Regions from separate parts of the Homo sapiens genome. Here all the other regions are linked to region 2. The links are contacts of gene promoters, found by promoter capture Hi-C in human tissues and cell types (Jung and others, 2019). All regions are on one chromosome and are shown on one strand. Each heading gives the region's core, a stretch centred on a gene start or on the middle of the fragment in contact. The rest is flanking DNA. Distances are from core to core; before and after follow the strand shown. Region 1 overlaps KLHL26 (kelch like family member 26). Region 2 holds the start of NR2C2AP (nuclear receptor 2C2 associated protein). Region 3 has its middle 7.3 kb from the start of CRTC1.

The links. The method cuts DNA at HindIII sites, captures the fragments that hold promoters and counts their contacts. A contact is called where the count stands out against the background at its distance.
Region 1: a fragment that was not itself captured here is called in contact with the fragment with the promoter of NR2C2AP in region 2 in 1 of the 25 tissues and cell types used here (dorsolateral prefrontal cortex).
Region 3: a contact is called between a fragment that was not itself captured here and the fragment with the promoter of NR2C2AP in region 2, in 1 of the 25 tissues and cell types used here (dorsolateral prefrontal cortex).

What each region holds. Positions count from the first base shown.
Region 1 is chr19:18,645,072-18,649,084 of GRCh38, reverse strand. The region is part of intron 1 of KLHL26 (kelch like family member 26); the gene reads right to left. Among named protein-coding and RNA genes, the nearest start is that of KLHL26, 10 kb to the right of the region's middle. RefSeq lists enhancers at 1-180, 181-991. The HindIII fragment of the contact is 9,166 bases long and covers 1-4,013 here.
Region 2 is chr19:19,201,922-19,206,071 of GRCh38, reverse strand. NR2C2AP (nuclear receptor 2C2 associated protein) reads left to right here and starts at 2,658. Exons shown (of 5, transcript NM_176880.6): 1 at 2,658-3,049; 2 at 3,191-3,281; 3 at 3,497-3,602; 4 at 3,674-3,741; 5 at 4,031-4,150. The coding sequence starts at 3,012. The coding sequence ends at 4,147. RefSeq lists an enhancer at 2,458-2,752 and a silencer at 3,416-3,682. The HindIII fragment of the contact is 14,823 bases long and covers 1-4,150 here.
Region 3 is chr19:18,674,559-18,678,205 of GRCh38, reverse strand. No RefSeq gene overlaps it. Among named protein-coding and RNA genes, the nearest start is that of CRTC1, 7.3 kb to the left of the region's middle. The HindIII fragment of the contact is 8,005 bases long and covers 1-3,647 here.

The DNA.
Region 1 (4,013 bases), core at 502-3,001, 560 kb after region 2:
AGGACATTCCAGTGAGCGTGCTTCAGAGCCCAGCAGAGCCGTCAGAGCTGCGGAAGCTCAGGGGCCCAGCGGGTCACATCAAGAAGTAGATTTTGTTCTGAGAGTGAGGGAGCCACTGGCAGGTGGCCGGCAGGGGAGTGAGGTGGTCTGATTCCTGCCTTAGGAGGGTCCCGCTGGCTGGAGTTGGGGATGATGCCCAGAAGGGGAAGAGCCAGGAGTGGCTCTGAGCTGGGATGGGGAGGAGAGAGCAGGAGGAGCTGGCTCCAGGCTGTGGCTCGAAGGTGGAACCCACAAGAGATGCTACCTGAGGACCTCCTGGGCAGCTGCAGCCAGACTGAGGCCTTCTCTCAGGAGGAGGGACATTCCCAGGACTGGGACCTGCTGGTGGGAAGACCTGAAGCCCTCAAGGACTGTGGGAGCTCCAAGTGGCACGAACCCTGAGCAAGGAGAGGCATGAAGGGCTTTTCTGGAACACAGGAAGGGCTGCGAATCCCCTAGGCCAGGTGGCGCCTCCAAGTCTGCTGCTTGTTGCAGGCAGTGCAGCCGCGCGGGACCAAGGACAACCCTGACCTTCAGCCTGCCCGGTGGGGAGGGCAGAAACTGGCCACCACTATCAGTCAGCACAAGCTCAACCTCCAGGCATCCCCAAGCCTGCGTGTGCCTCTCCATCCCTCCAGGGCCCACCTTGGCCGAGGGTCCCTTGTCTCTTGCCAGAGGGATCCTTTCTTTTTTGAGACAGAGTCTCACTTTGTCGCCCAGGCTGGAGTGCAGTGGTGCAATCTCGGCTCCTGGGTTCAATCGACTCTCGTGCCTCAGCCTCCAGAGCAGCTGGGACTACAAGCACCCGCCACTGCGCCCAGCTAGTTTTGTGTATTTTTAGTAGAGACTGGATCTCACTATGTTGCCCAGGCTGGTCTCGAACTCCTGACCTCAAGTGATCTACCCGCCTTGGCCTCCCAATGTGCTGGGAATACAGGTGTGAGCCACCACACCCGGCCTACAGAGGGATCCTTTCAAAACAGGAGGCTGACTGATATGCCGCTCACCCAAACCCTGCCCTGGCCCCCTGGCCCAGCCAGCCCGGAAATGACCGCACGACGTTCTCTAACTCCTGCTGGCATGTATGCGCCCCATGGGCAGGGTCCATCTGTCCCATGGACCCTTCATGTCCAGCACCAGGCATGGGGTGGACACAGGAGACTGTGGCACCTGCACAAAGGCAGAGAAATGTGTCTAACAAATCCTGTCCACAGAGCAAAGAGCTGGGGATGCCGGGACACATGCTGCCCAGTCACCCCTTGCCTTCAGTAGATCCCACCCCCTTCTTCCAGGATCCAAGGCCCCAAGTCGCTGAATTATTTCTATCTGTGTCCTTCCCCCTCATCCTCCTCTCTCCCTCCCCATTCTCCTGTTCTTTTTCTCCTCCTCTCTCTTTCCTCCTCCTCCTCTCTTCCTCCTCCTCTTCCTCCTCTTTTTCTCCTCCTCCTCTTCCTCCTCCTCCCTCTCATCTCCTCCTCCTCTTCCTCCACTCTTCCTCCTCCTCCTCTCTTCCTCCTCCAGGGCCTCTTAACACCAAATCTAAAACATTCCCTAAAACCAAAGGGTAAGACACACACACACACACAAATATCAGAAAAAGGAAAAAACCAAAGGGCTGGAGTGAGGAGAAAGCCTCCCTTTTACAGTGTCTGAGGAGAGGTGGGTGAGATAAAAAGTAATCGCCGTGGGGGAGGTGGGATGACATTCGCAGGGGCTCCCTGGAGATGGTGCGATTATGGCGGAGGGTAATAAAGCCTTTCTTCCCCGGTAACTACGGACAACGACAAGGAGGCCGTCCCGGGGGTCACAGCTACCAGGTGGAAACAGTCCAGCTGTGACGATCGCACTGCACGATTCAGGTTGAAGTGAGTGCTTTCAGAGCAATTCCACTCCCAGAGCTCTTGGGACCTGCCGACAAGGAGGGGAGGAGAGGGTGGCCTCCTTCCCAGAGAAGGGGCTCAGCTGTGAGGGGCAGATCGAGTGGCCTGGATGTGGCTCGGCCTGTGGGCCAGTGCCCTTCTTGGGCTGGCCCAGTTCCACCTGCCCCCATCCCTGCTGAGACGCGCCACCCCCCGCCGCCCCTGCCCCCGCCCTGCCGAGCTCCTGCTCCCAGGCCTACTCCTGGCGGAACCTGCCCTCTCCAGCTCACGCTGGACGTGCTCTACTCTCTCGCTGCCCCTGCTGCTGTCCCTCTTACGGCCCAAGTCATGGCACTACTGTCTTCCCAATGGCTCAAGTTCACCCTCTCCTTTCCCTGCCTGACACACGCACGCCACATCAAGGCTTGCTGGCATTGACGATCCCCTCAAGGCCCATGCGGGCATGGCGGGCAGAAGGATGGCAGTGTCCCCATCATGGGCGTCAGCACTGCCACAGTAACACTGATGAGGTACATGTGACCTCTCCCCACTCGTTTCCTCCCAGACACCCCCCACCTGGTGGGCCTGGAGCCCCATTTCCCAGATGAGGAATCTGTCACAGCCACAACCCATAAAGAGGGAGCCACAGTCACCCATGGGTATGATGAGACACCTCATGCCGCCATATCTGACCACATTTTCCAGGAGAAGGACTTGAGTCCACGTCTTGGAAGGGTCAAAATCCTCCTTCTGAAAGGGGCATGAGGCCGGGCGCACTGGCTCATGCCTGTAATCCCAGCACTTTGGGAGGCCAAGGCAGGTGGATCACCTGAGGTCAGGAGTTCGAGACCAGCCTGGCCAACATGATGAAACCCCATCTCTCCTAAAAATACAAAAACTAGCCAGGCATGGTAGTGGGCGCCTGTAGTCCCAGCTACTTGGGAGGCTGAGGCAGGAGAATCACTTGAACCCAGAAGGCGGAGGTTGCAGTGAGCCAAAATCATGCCACTGCACTCCAGCCTGAGCTCAGAGTGACGTCAAAAAAAATTAATAATAATAAAAAAGAAAGGGGCAAGAGGCCAAAGGAATGAGAACTTCCCCAAAGTAGCAAGAACCTCCTTGGGAAGCCACCTCTTCCCCTAAGTCTTCCTAGCAGGAGCTGGGGGGCTGGACCCTTCCAAGGCCTCTGGGCTTGGTGGAGATGATCTAGATTGTGGAGAAAGCTTCAACAGGCAAAGGCCACCCAGCCAGACTGACTGTGACAAACCCACCGGGCGCAGCGTCTCGGCCACAACTTTCCATGCAAACACTTTCAGCAGGCAGCAAAGCCCCTGGGCACAACGTCCCAGCCATCACTTCTTTTTTTTTTTTTTTTGATACAGAGTCTCACTCTGTCGCTCAGGCTGGAGTGCAGTGGCAGGATCTCGGCTCATTGCAACCTCCTCCTCCCAGGTTCAAGCGATTCTCCTGCCTCAACCTCCAGAGTTGCTGGGATTAAAGACGCCCACCACCACACCTGACTAATTTTTGTATTTTTAGTAGAGAGGGGGTTTCACTATGTTGGCCAGGCTGGTCTCAAACTCTGGACCTTGTAATCTGCCTGCCTTGGGCTCCCAAAGTGCTGGGATTACAGGAGTGAGCCAAAGCACCCAGCCTAGCCACCACTTCTTATGCAAATGCCTGAAGCTGGCACATCCCTCACCCAGATCCCCCCACCTCACCCCCAGGAACAGCATGACTCAGTGAGCCTGGGCCCTACCCAGGCGTCTCCAGGGAGCGTGGGCCAAAAAGCGTGGATGCCAAAGGCCCATGTCGGAGAGGCTGCAAGGCCAGAAGGTTCCTCCAAAACTCTGCCGGTCAGGTACCTCACAGTGACAGAATTTTAGCTGGGGAGGTGCGACTCCCCAGAGGGTTTGCCTCCCCTTGCGACACCCCAAGTGGCCCAAGCCTCCTTTCCCTCCAAGGAGTCTAGACCCCGCGGCCCGAGCTGGGAGGAGGCCAGCTGGTGAACAAGTGTCCTTTGTGCTTGCAGCAAGGACCCCACCTCCTCTCCGCACACCCCAGCCAGGGCAGCCCCACTCTGTCCATCCCTGAGGTTCGGCTCAGTCATTAATG
Region 2 (4,150 bases), core at 1,409-3,908:
TGTGTCCTCAGCTATAAAATGGGAATGACAGGGACCAGCCACAGCAGGTTTAACGAGCCAATGGGTGGCGACAGAACATGGCTTCAAGTCAGACACACGGTGGACTCTCAGTGAAAGTCAGCTACTGTTACTATGTGTCAACCTGAAGAACCCAGAGAGTCCTCCAACAGTGCCGTTAATAGAATTCCCCCCATTTCACAGATGAGAAACTGAGGCTCAGAGAGGTCAAGGTGCTTTTCTAAGGTCACACAGCCAATGAGTGGTCCAGCCAGGATTTGAACCAGATCTGGGCTCTCCAGTGTCCTTGCTCTTTCTAACTTCCTTCCGGGGGTGAGGTTGGGGGCACAGTTTCCTGTCACCTCCAGCCCCAGCCCTGAGACCAGCGAAGTTGGGTTTGGATGGCACCAGACTCTGTCTAAATGCGGAAAGCCCTGGCAGGCAGGGGCTGAAGAGACAGGCCTTCTGCTGGTGACCCAGTTTCCCCGCCAGCCCCCACCCCTGCTGCCTGGGGTGGGTTTGAGCAGACACTAGTAGGATGCCGGAAGGACCATTCCTCCAGCCCTTGAAGAAAGGGGCTGGCTGCCAGACCATTCAGCTAAAGCCAGGAACAACAGCCTCTTGCCAGTGGCTGCTCTGTCTTGGAACCCTCCATTCATGCAGAACGGATGGTGTCCTGCCCTTTCTCCAACACCTTCCATGACTGCTCCGGGCCCAGCAGGATGTGGCTCCACATATTTTATTCAAATTCATGGTCTTTCACCCAACTAGGCCTTGGCTTATGCTAAGCTCCCTGCCTGGGACACCCTCCCCACTCCAGATTTTCTCACCCTTGTGAATTCCTGGCGCCTGACCCCCTATTAAGGTGCAGTTCTAACATCCCCTTTCCCAGGAAGCCCTTCCTCCAGGTAGAGCCCCTGCTCCTCCGGCCCCATCTCTCCCTTGGGGCTAGGAGTGTCTATGTCTACCTCTGTCTTGCCCAGATCAGGGGCTCCTCTGGGACAGGCCTGGAGCTGAGGCCTCTTGCTGTCCCCAGCATCATCCAGCAGAAGGCTGGACATGACAGTGTGACAGTAGAGCTTGCAGGAGGTGTCTAGTGAATCAGTGAACCAAATCTTCAGCTTGGTATCTGAGGCTTTGTTTGGCAAACTCCTGTTCATGCTTCAAAACCCACCTCACAGCCTGGGTGCGGTGGCTCACACCTGTAATCCCAGCACTTTGGGAGGCCAAGGCGGGCAGATCACGAGGTTAGGAGTTCGAGACCAGCCTGGCCAAGATAGCGAAACCCCATCTCTACTAAAAATACAAAAATTAGCCAGGCATAGTGGTGCGCACCTGTAGTCACAGCTACTCAGGAGGCTGAGGCAGGGGAATCACTTGAACCTGGGAGGCGGAGGTTGCAGTGAGCTGAGATCACACCACTGCACTCCAGCCTGGGCAACAAAGTGAGGCTCCGTCTCGAAACAAAACAAAACAGAAACAACAAAAAACACCCGACCTCGCATGCTCCCTCCTCCAAGAAGCCTTCCTTGACGTCCCAGCAGCATTTTCTGGGAAAGACAAACTTGGAGGCCAGGGCTCCTCTGTCCCAACAAGAACAAAAAGGGTTGATGAGGACTTCAGATACTCCCAACATCGTGGCCTTTTCCACAACTCTGCCTTTGGCCTCCGGGAGGCAGTGAAGTTCGGGGATTCCCAGGCTGCATTTAGTGGTTAGGGTAGAGTAGGTTAGAGTAGGTTAGGGTAGCCGTTAGGGTAGAGTAGGTTAGAGTAGGAAGAAAGACATTGTCATAGGAAGTCTCTCTGGCCGGGCGCGGTGGCTTACGCCTGTAATCCCAGCACTTTGGGAGGCTGAGGTGGGCGGATCACTTGAGCCCAGGAGTTCGAGACCAATCTGGGCAACATGGCGAAACCTCATCTCTACCAAAAAACAAACAAACAAACAAACAAACAAAATAGCCTGCCGTGGTGGCGCGCGCCTACTAGTTCCAACTATTCGGGAAGCTGGGTAGGAGGATTGCTGGAGCCTGGGAGGCAGAGGTCGCAGAGAGCCGCGATCCCACCATTGTACTCCAGCCTGGGTGACAGTGAGACCCCACTTCAAAAAAAAAAAAAAAAAAAGGCCGGGCGCGGTGGCTCAAGCCTGTAATCCCAGCACTTTGGAAGCCCCGGCGGCTGGATCACGAGGTCAGGAGATCAAGACCATTCTGGCTAACACGGTGAAACCCCGTCTCTACTAAATATACGAAAAATTAGCCGGGCGTGGTGGCGGGCGCCTGTATTCCCAGCTACTTGGGAGGCTGAGGCAGGAGAACGGCGTGAACCCAGGGGGCGGAGCTTGCAGTGAGCGGAGATCGTGCCACTGCACTCCAGCCTGGGCGACAGTGAGACTCCGCCTCAAAAAAAAAAAAAAAAAAAGGAAGTCTTTCGGATTCCAAAATCAGTCAAAATCAGTGCTCTACACCTTCGGGCGCCGAGGGACAGCGCCCCGTGCGCGCAGCCAGCCTTTTCCCTACAGCTTCAAGGGAACCAAGGTAAATTCAATCATCGAACCCGGGCCCTTTAAGAAGCGAGCATGAAGGGGCGGGGTCGAACCAAACCCCACCTCTGGAGCGTCCGCGGTCGGCGCCTGAATTACAACACGCATGCGCCAAGCCCACGCGGTTCCGGGTCCCAAGATTTGGCTCCAAGAGCTATTCGCAGAGAAACAGCCTCGCACAAAAAGCCACCGCCCCCGAAACCCGCGGGAAATCTGTTTCCTGTGAAAGGCCTGGCCTCCGGGCATTGGCGGTTTCCCTGATCCTCTCTCCCAAATTTTCCGGCAGGGGATTGATCGAGGCGACATTTAGGACTGGGGTGGGCGAGGGAGTGGCGGTTCTCGTCCCAAGTTACAGGTGAGGACGTTCAGGCCAAGGCGTAGCCAAGATCGCGCCGCCCTGTAGCTTGAGGAGGCGCCGGGATTCGAACCAAGGCTGTGCCCAATCCTAAGCCCTGCGAGGTCTTGTGGAACCGACATGACCCACTCTTTGGTTTGTCCAGAGACAGTGAGCAGGTAAGAGTCTGTGGGGACAGGCAGTGGCGAGGCCCTAAGCCTGGGGTCGAGCCCTCAGTGGACAGATCTGGGGGTCAGGCCCTCCGCGGAGCTGAGAGCTGGTCTCAGCCCCTCTCTTCGCCTTGATCCTGGTGCCTCCAGGGTGAGTTCAGTGCTGAATCGCAACACTCGGCAGTTTGGAAAAAAACATCTTTTCGACCAGGATGAGGAGACATGTTGGAACTCAGACCAGGTGAGGCGCCTCCCTCGACCCTCCATCTCTAGGGTGATTCAGATTCAGATCTCATGCCTTGAGAACGTCAGGGGGCCCTCATGGGTGGCCAGGAAAGGAACATGTGCCGAATTTCCTTCTTCCCCTCCATTCCAAGAACTATGTGAATGAGACAGGCATAGCAGGGCTCTGTGCCTGCAGTGAGCTTGCGCCTCAGTTTCCCTGTCTGCTTCCAGGGCCCCTCCCAGTGGGTGACGCTGGAGTTTCCCCAGCTCATCCGTGTCTCCCAGCTGCAGATCCAGTTTCAGGGTGGCTTCTCCAGTCGCCGGGGCTGCCTGGAAGGTACTAGAAGGCCCTGGGTGGCAGGGGTTCCAGGGGTCACCCCAGACACTCATTGCCTTTCTCTGCTGAAGGTTCACAGGGCACTCAGGCTCTCCACAAGATTGTAGATTTCTACCCTGAGGACAACAACTCGCTTCAGATATCCTGCCCCTGCTTCTGGGGTGGGTGGTCTGTGCCTCTGGAAGCTTTGGACTCACCCAAACCCGAATGGGAACCCTGATGTGTGATCTTGAACACGTGACCTCTAGGACTCCACTTTTTCTGTAAAATGGTGCTGATGACCACCTGTTCTGTGTGAGAGGCTTAGAGGGACCTGCAGCTTCCCCAGGTTGCCCACATCGGTGGAGTGTGAGCTGGGTCTGGAAGGGGTGGGGGCCTGCGGGTGGGAAACCAGAAATCACCAGTTTCCCTTGACTGCCCACGCTCACACTTTCCCCATACCAGCTGCTGAAGTGGACCGGCTGAAGGTGACGTTTGAGGATGCCACTGACTTTTTTGGCCGTGTGGTCATCTACCACCTGCGGGTGCTTGGGGAGAAGGTGTGAGAC
Region 3 (3,647 bases), core at 822-3,321, 530 kb after region 2:
TGATGAGTCAGAGGAAGCAGCCAGCCCGCTCATTGTGCAATGGCCAGACAGCAGCCCAAGCCCCGCTTCTTGCTCCACTGACCCCCAGCCCTGAGAAGGGCGAGGCTTCAGTGTCCAGTGACCCGGGCAGAAACCAACCCTGAGGTTTTCACTTTCTTCCTTCATCAAAGGAACTTGCTGTCACCCAGTGTGGTCCAACACTGCTCCTCACAGCAGCCCTGCGGGCTTTGCAAAGCAGGGCAGATCCCACACTCCCATCGCACTTAAAAAAAAAAAAAATCTAAAGGCTTGGCGCAGTGGCTCATGCCTGTAATCCCAGCACTTTGGGAGGCAGAGGCAGGTGGGTCACCTGAGGTCAGGAGTTCAAGACCAGCCTGGCCAACATGGTGAAACCCCGTCTCTTAAAAAAAAAAAAAAATGAAAATTAGCTAGGCATGATGGTGGGTGCCTGTAATCCCAGCTACTCGGGAGGCTGAGGCAGGAGAATCGCTTGAACCCGGGAGGTGGAGGTTGCAGTGAGCCGAGATCGCACCATTGCACTCCAGCCTGGGAGACAGAGTGAGACTCCATCTCAAATAAAAAAAAAATACCCTCCTCCTGGCGGCTCCACATGCTTATGCTCGGCTCGGCTCTCGCTCCAGCCACACGGGCCTCTTCGCTGTTCCCTCTGCCTGGATTGCGCTCCTCCAAGATGCTTTCGTGGCTGGCTCCTTCTCGACTTGCAGGCCTCTGCTCTGAGAGACCCTCCTGAAGGGTCTAGCTGAAGTGGACCTCCAGCGTCTCTTCCCATGACCCAGAAACATCCCATTCTCTGAAGGCAGCTGTTTGTGCGGTCTCATCTGATCCCTTGTAGATTGAGCTGAGATTATGTTCGCCTTTCCCAAAGAGGCCAGGGCCAGGCCAGAGTTCCCTGTGTGCCTGTGGAATGTGGAAAGGGCACAGACACACGTGATTTCTTATGTGTTTTTGTTCATTCGTTTGTGCGTTTTTAAGACAGAGTCTTGCTCTGTCACCCAGGCTGGAGTGCAGTGGCGCGAACTCGGCTCACTGCAACCTCCACCTCCACACCTGTAATGTCAGCACTTTGGGGGACTGAGGTGGGCGGATCACCTGAGGTCAGGAGTTTGAGACCAGCCTGGCCAACATGGTGAAACACCGTCTCTACTAAAAATGCAAAAAAAACATTAACTAGGCGTGGTGGTGCACGCCTGTAAACCCAGCTACCTGGGAGGCTGAGGAAGGAGAATTGCTTGACCCGGGAGATCAAGAAACTCTTGAGCATTTCTGTGTGGTCCAACACTTATCAGTTGTCAAGCTGTGTGACAATGGAAAACTGTCTTCACCTCTCTGAGCCGCACTGCCCTCCTCTGCTAAATGTGGACAGTGGTGCTCCTCATAGCAGGCTCTTGGAAAGATGAAACAGATAACACATGGAAAGCACTTAGCTCAGTGCCTGCTTCATCCAAGCACTCAGCAACTGTTAGGAAAGCAAAACGCTACTTCGCCATGTTAGTTTTCATGCTTTGCTTCTCAGCTCTTCCTTATATGGGATCTTAGTCGATTTGGGGTACCCACGTCGTGTGGAGGTGAATTAGGGCCATTGGAGCTGAGAGGCAAAGAGGAAAACAATCCCTGGTCTGTCTTTGACTTCCAAAAGAGGCTCTCATCGTACAGAGTTTTTAAAGGGCAAAGCAAAAGCTGGGTCTGATCATGAAGAGAGAGGGAAAGGACCCAAGAGAAGCCAGCGATGCCCCTCCTTACGATAAGGTTACAGGAGGACCCAGGCCCCTCGTCCTCCCACCCAGGCTTTAGTGGTGGATGGAGGGTGGGACGGGGTGGGCCGCCAAGGAGGGTAGTGAGAGGCTGGAACTGGGCAGGCGGGGGACCCATGGTTCAAGTCTAGGGACCCAGCCACTTGTGCTGAGGGATAGATAGCTGAAGTGCGTGTTGGAAAACTGGTTGGTTGGCTGGATGCATTGGCTTGTGCCTATATTCTCAGCACTTTGGGAGGCAGAGGCAGGAGGACTGCTTGAGCTCAGGAGTTTGAAACCAGCCTGGGCAACATAGAGAGACTTGGGCATGCTCCCAGGGACACCTACAGTGTCCATGCCCTGAAACTTGGCCAAGGCCCCATTGACCTCCCTACATCCAGACCCCCATCCTGCTTTCCAAGATCCTGGGGCACTCACAGCCCCCACTCACCTGAAACAAACAAACAAAAAAGAGGGATATCTCGACCTCCAGGGGGCAGTGGCTGCTAAGGAGATGCAGAACGGGCCTTTCTTTTTGGTTGCCAGCATCAGGGTCCCCATCCAAGTTTGGGGAGTCCCCCCACAGAGGGAAGTTGGTCACCCTGCTAACAAGAGAGGCCCCCAAGCCAAGGGTGACCCATCGAACTATTGGCCGCGGTTCCCACCTATTCCTGCATCCCTGCCCTCTACAGTTCTTCCTTCCAGGTGGAAGACACTTCCCCATTCCAGATGTGGGGCTCAGCCATGTCATTTGCTTGGCCAAAGACTTATGGGCAGGTCAGGCATAGTGGCTCATGCCTGTAATCCCAGCACTTTGGGAGGCCAGGGCAGGTGGTTGACTTGAGGCCAGGAGTTCGAGACCAGCCTGGCCAACAAAGCGAAACCCCGTCTCTATTAAAAATACAAAACTTAGCCAGGTGTGGTGGCACATACCTGTAATCCCAGCTACTCGAGAGGCTGAGGCAAGAGAATCGCTTGATCTTGGGAGGTGGAGGTTGCTGTGAGCCGAGATTGCACCACTGCACTCCAGCCTGGGTGACAGAGCGAGATTCAGTCTCAAATAAATAAATAAATGAATAAGCTGCTCTTGGTGGCATGAGCGTATAGTTCTAGCTAGTCAGGAGGCTAAGGTGGGAGTATCACTTGAGCCCAGGAGGTCGAGGCTGCAGTGAACCATGATTGTGCCACTGCACTCCAGCCTGGGCAACAGAGCAAGACTCCATCTCAAAATAAAAAAAAAAAAGACTTACGGGCAGATGTGATAGTGTTTGAGTCCCGAACTGAGACCCTACGAGGCCTCACGTGATTCCACTTGTCCTCAGACACTTGCAGGAGGAAAATGTGCCCTGGCTAGCTGCTGTTCCAGCAGGAGGCAAGAACCCGTGGAGCAGGGACTCTGGGCTACTCTGCATCCTTGCACCTGTAAGCAGAGCTGCCCAGCCGAGGCCCGCCTAGAGCAGACACCACCTCTGCTGACTCACAGACATGTGAAAAACAAACGCTTATTGTTGCATGCCATTGAGACTTGGGGGTGTTTGTTGCACAGCAGTGGCTGACTAATACACACGAATGTACTCACTTTCACCACTCCTGGGACAGCTGGGGAATGGCGTGGGATACTGGTTGGGCCTCCGGGATGTTTCCATGCAGGCACAAGTGCTACAGAGAAACAGCATCGGGGCAGGGCCATCTGTTTTCTAGGGGCAGCTGTGGCTGAGTGCCCAGGGCAGATGGCAGTGCCAACGGAGGCGTCTGGATTCTGCAGTGGTGGCAGGATCGTCCTCTGGCATAATTTCAGCTGAAGGCCTAGTTGCCTCACGCCTTTGATTCCCTTGTTTACTTTTTTCTTTTTTCTTTTTTTTTTTTTTTTGGAGACAGGGTCTCACTGTGTTACCC